2 separate regions of the Homo sapiens genome follow, and region 1 is linked to region 2. The links are contacts of gene promoters, found by promoter capture Hi-C in human tissues and cell types (Jung and others, 2019). All regions are on one chromosome and are shown on one strand. The core of a region is centred on a gene start or on the middle of the fragment in contact, and the rest is flanking DNA. Distances in the headings are between cores, read along the strand shown.

What was found. The method cuts DNA at HindIII sites, captures the fragments that hold promoters and counts their contacts. A contact is called where the count stands out against the background at its distance.
Region 1: a fragment that was not itself captured here is called in contact with the fragment with the promoter of PLK4 in region 2 in 1 of the 25 tissues and cell types used here (hippocampus).

What each region holds. Positions count from the first base shown.
Region 1 is chr4:127,630,362-127,633,231 of GRCh38, forward strand. INTU (inturned planar cell polarity protein) reads left to right here and starts at 2,596. Exons shown (of 16, transcript NM_015693.4): 1 at 2,596-2,819. The coding sequence starts at 2,674. RefSeq lists enhancers at 2,244-2,783, 2,446-2,625. The HindIII fragment of the contact is 3,914 bases long and covers 1-2,870 here.
Region 2 is chr4:127,879,505-127,882,259 of GRCh38, forward strand. PLK4 (polo like kinase 4) reads left to right here and starts at 1,389. Exons shown (of 16, transcript NM_014264.5): 1 at 1,389-1,660; 2 at 2,327-2,422. The coding sequence starts at 1,631. RefSeq lists an enhancer at 1,473-1,712. The HindIII fragment of the contact is 10,406 bases long and covers 1-2,755 here.

The DNA of each region.
Region 1 (2,870 bases), core at 190-2,689, 250 kb before region 2:
CCCCTATTCAAGATGGAGTCGCTCTGGTTCAAATGCCTCTGACACTCCTTTTGCCCATTACCCCTTTACAAACTCCTCCTCCTGTTCTTCAACTTTAGTAACATATAGACCTCTTTTAAGGAAAAACTATTGTGGATTTCCATGGATGACTTAAGTTTTTTAATTATAATTTTAAATAAATGAGGTATAATCTGTGCTTTATAGCTCCTATATAAGATGAAAACAATTTTATGAATTAATACAAATAAATTACAAAATGTAATCGCTGTTATAACACTATAAAAACACATTTAGAAATTAAAACAAAACCATAAAACCTAGGAAATTCAAATGTATATAGTTTAATGTACATTTGTACATGTAATATACAAATTCAAATGTACATAGTTTAATGTATATTTGTACATGTAATGTACAGTTAATGTAAATACAACTAAACTTCAGCTTAAAAGTATAAGCTGCATACTGCAGCTTGTTTGGCTGTGAGGAAGGTAAAATATACTATCCTGGCCATTTAAGTTTAATACACTTGAAAAACAGCAAGTGCCTTTGTGCTGCTTCTTAAAAGCAACAGATGAAGCTCCCATGTGAAAGACACCCTCCCTATACTAGAAAAATGTAACATTCTTATTCTCAAGGGCATAGAAGTGAAACCAAGAGAATTCTGTACAGACCTTGTTAAAATAACTTATCTTTTAAGCTTCCCAATTTAGTTTAGTTGCTTCTTCACAACTAACTATTCTTTGTCCAATCCAGTATATAAGTTAACTGACTCTAACTGCTTCTTTGGGTCTTCATTTCTTTATGAGGGCTCCCCTGCCATGTAAAACTTGGATTCTAGAGCAAGGAGAGAGGTCTGTCTGCCAGGCTCAAATTTGCGAGGTGGGAGTGGGTTCCAGCCTATTCAGGGAATGGCCAGTTGGCCTGTATAGATGAAGCACAGAACTGAGAGAAAATTTAGGGCAGTTCCCCAAGTTTGCTGAATCACAGGGGGCACTTGTTTGAAATAGAGATTTCCAGGCCCCTCCACTGGAGATTCTGATCCTGTTGATGTGGAGCAGGGCCTCAACATCTGTATAACAAGTTCCAGTTGCTTTTCTTTTGTTAATCTATTTTAGGTAAGTTTAATTCTCAGGCCCAGCTGGGACCCTAAGAAGATGGAGGTAGAGTTTTTCTGCCCCTGCAACAGCTACAATTCAGGTTCCTTTGAGTTCTCCATGCATATACCCATACCGGCCATGTGATGACTCATCTCCCATTACTCTTTCTCTGTTGGAACCATGCCATAATAACAATATAAATTAATACTTCCTCTAAGAAATTTGTCATGGCCCCACGTATACTACTTTGGTTTTTTCTGGATATTCCATTAGAACCTTGTATTTATTGTAATACTTATCACTATGTTATAATTGCCCATTAGAGAATCCCCAGCACCCAGCCTTTTAGATCATAAAATAACATTATATCCTTTTTTTACACGCTGCAACATGAACATTTCCCCCATGCTTTACTCTTTGAACACATTCTAGTTAAAATCATAATCATCATATTTTATATATATTTAACTTTTCCCCCATTATTTGACATTTTAAGATTGCTTTCAGCTTTTCACTTTTACAAATTTTATAAATTTGCATCCTTTCTCAGAGTAGATATCTAATAGTTGAATTACTGGGTTCTGAGGGAGGAAATTTCATGTAATGGTTATTGACTTAGGTTCATTTCTTGGTTGACTTTGTTGACTGCTAGCCATGTAACCATTAGTAAGATGCATAACTTCTCTAAAGCTTAGTTTCCTTATTTAATATAGAGAAAATATTTACTTCATAGTATGTGAATGCTCAGCATTGTATATGAATAAAGTGAGCAGAGCCAAGGCTGACTCTCAATCAATGCTAGCTGTTATTTTTGTACTTAAAAAATACTTGATATAGGTATTCATAAATAACAGGTAGATTTTACCTGTTTACACTTCCAACTTTAATAATGAGAACACTTAATTAGATTATAAAATTTTGAGTTAGAAAATGAACATGAAGTTGATTCCACAGGATTGCCACTCATTTGTGGCACTCTACAATACCCACTTGGGATAACCGTGAAAATGTTTGCAATTGCGAAACAATATGAAACCCATAAAACAATGGAGCGTATTTACATTAACACCTAGATCGCGTTGCTTAAAAGCGTCCATTACTTGCACGGATGAGGTCCTAAGGAAAGGTAAAGTGCGGTTTCCTTCACCTCGAAGGAAATCCAGGCTGACCGACAGCTGTTAGGCATTAGAAACACAGGACAAAGAGCAAACTGGATATCCAGCACTGGAAGAAAAAGGTGAGAAGCCCAGTGCATCTCCGCCTGTTTTAACAGGTTATGCTGCTCTAAGGAATTGCGTTCCGGAGAGCGTAAGCGGTGAAGTTTTAGCTATTTCTATCCTTCCAACTGAGAAGCCCTCCTGGAAGTTTCAGCCCATTGGCTGCTTTCTGTTCTCCCTGTTTCTTCTGGGAAGCTTCTCCGTCTCCCTGGCAACGCGACCTGCCACCAATTGCAGCTAAGGATTGGTGGTCACATGGCCTCTGCCCCTTCCCAAGCAGAGGCAACATGGCGGCCTTAGCAAGCTATAGCTGCGAGATTTGAATTACTCCACTCGTAGCTATTGCATTCCTGACGATGGCCTCTGTGGCTTCGTGCGATTCGCGTCCGAGCTCAGACGAGCTCCCTGGAGACCCCTCTTCACAAGAAGAAGATGAGGACTATGATTTTGAAGATCGGGTCAGCGACTCGGGTTCATATTCCTCAGCGAGTAGCGATTATGAGTAAGGTTTTCAAAGAGGGACAATTAATCCCATCCCATCAATCCAGAGAAT
Region 2 (2,755 bases), core at 139-2,638:
TACTGGAAGGAAAAAATGTTAAATAAAGACATTACTGGAACAATTGACAAATCGGAATATGAACTGTAGATTAGATTAAATATAAATATTGTATCAATGCTAAATATCCTTAATTTGATAAACATACAAGAGGATACCCTGGTTCTTAAGAAATTCACACTTTAGAAATAAGGGGTATAAGAGCATAGTGTATGTAACCTATTTTAGAATGATTCATAAAATACAAATAATAGGCTTATTTATATATTTATACATGTATATTACACATGAAGAATAGTAAAAACAAGTGTGGCAAAATGTTAAGAATTGGTTAATCTGAGTAAAGGACAACAGGAGTTCTCTATTATTTTTACAACTTTTCTGTAAGCTTAAAATTATTTGAAACTAAAAAGTTTAAAAAAAAAAATGGGCCGGGCATGGAGGCTCACGCCTGTATTCCTAGCACTTTGGGAAGCCGACGCAGGCGGATCACCTGAGGTCAGGAGTTCGAGACCAGCCTGGCCAACATGGTGAAACCCCGTCTCTACTAAAAATACAAAAATTAGCCAGTCGTGGTGGCGCGTACCTGTAAATCCCAGCTACCCGGGAGACTGAGGAAGGAGAATCGCTGGAACCCAGGAGATGGAGGCTGCAGTGAGCCGAGATCGAGTCACTGCACTCCAGCCTGGGCGACAGAGCGAGACTCCATCTCAAAAGAAAAAAGAAAAAGAAAAAGAAATACACACTAACATCAAGGAAAAGAGCTTTCACTTAATAACAGAAGATCTAAGTTTGTGCGCTACTTCTGTTTGTTAAATATCCTTCCTTAAGCATCACACTTTTCTCACCTGCAAAACACCATCCCAAACTTACAGAGGTCTCTTTTGATCCATACAAATTATGTGTATGAGAGATCTAACTGTAAATTATTATACAAATGACATTATAATATTAAATACTTAGGAGTTTGCCAAAATAAAGAATGGAGTTCGTTTTCTTAAGGTACCGTACACATTAACTACAGTTATAACAAACTACGGAATAAGCGGTAGTGGTGTAAACGGTGTTCCTTAAAGGAAGGTAATGTTTTTTGCCCTGTTCCGTCAAGTCTTAAACGCTTGACATTTTAAAATAGTTTTAAACCCTTTCCGGAATTAGAAGTGGTATTTCGGACCGTGAAGTAACCGATCAGCCATAAGTGTCCCATCTTTAAGGCCTGCTCTTTTACCCGTCTTGCAGAAGTTCTTCCGAGAGTGGGCCCGAGACAGCCTCCCGCCCGAACTAAACTCTCCGCAGCGCTTCCGGCCCTTGGCCCCGAAGTCTAGAACCCTGGGCCGGCCGCAAAGGAAGGTCTGCCGCGCATGCGCGCCCCGGCGCAGCCTATCCGGAGCGATCCATCTCGTTACGTCACCACCAGCCTAGCTCGGACGGCAAGCGGCGGGAGATTTTCAAAATGGGAGCCCAGAGGCACCGCCCAGGCCTCGGAAGGTGTCAGGGAGAACTTTCCGTGGTTTCAGCGTCGTCGCCTGGAGCGGCGGTTTAGAGAGCCGAGCCTGATGGGCGCCAAGGCCGGCTGGCTGCTTGGAGCGCTGCCTCGAAGGGACTGCGTGAAGGAAGCTAATCCGGAGAACCCAGGCCAGAGCCTGGAAATATGGCGACCTGCATCGGGGAGAAGATCGAGGTGAAAAGACTCGGCAGTCTGCAGCGGGGCGGGTGGGAGTAATTGTGGGAGGACACGAGACCGCTGTGGGAAGGGGAGCGAACGAAGCTAACGGCTGCGGGGCGGGCACCGAGGTGCTTAGGGAGGGTCCCAACGGCCCAGACCCCTGCTGTTTAGGGGCGGAGCGGCCCGCCCCTCAAGAGACAAGAGTAGGGAAGGCGGGACAGGTGAGTCCCTCCCCGCCCGGCAGTGTCCCGAGGCACTGCGGCTTTCTTTCAGCAATCCCGCCCGAGCTACCGCGTTAGAGCAGGGCAGGGCTACCTCCCACTTCTCCAAGGGGATGGCGGTTATCTCCGGCGGGAGCTGCGGCGGGATTCTGACCGAGCCCTCCGCTCCCGGGGATTGGCTGGAGATGGGAGGAGGGCGCTTAGGCTGCACTGAGGTTGAGGAACCAGATCACTAGGGTGCACCATCACCCTGAGCTTCCAGTCCAGCCTGGAAGCGCAGGTATCCCCGCACGGAGTCAACATGCCTTCCACCCTAGACACCTGCTGCATCGAGGTGTAATACCCGCTTGAATTTTGTCAAATTCCCCACTCGATCCATTTTATCTTCTTTTTCCAGCCCCTTCCCATCTTCCTTTCTACTGTGAGTCATCACACATAATCTTTAATTTTAACTTTTAAGGATTTTAAAGTTGGAAATCTGCTTGGTAAAGGATCATTTGCTGGTGTCTACAGAGCTGAGTCCATTCACACTGGTTTGGAAGTTGCAATCAAAATGGTAAGAATAAACTAATCAACTTCTCTCCTGTACTTTGCAAGTAACTAGAGAGGTATCAGAGATGTCAGAAACTCCTTGTCTACTAGCCTTTCCTTTGATTATAGTGTAAGGAACACTTTACATAGGCAGAAGACAATAGTGCCAAGTCCAGCCGTTGAACTTAAAAATATTTTAGGAAAGCCTTGACCTTGCTTAAGTAAGTTTTATCTTCATTAATGTTCAGTAGACCTCGTATGTGGTGTAATTATCCATACTTGGAGTAATGAGTAGAAATCAACTAACAAATAATTTGTTTATAGTTCACTGTGTATAATTTTGTATTTCCCTGTAACA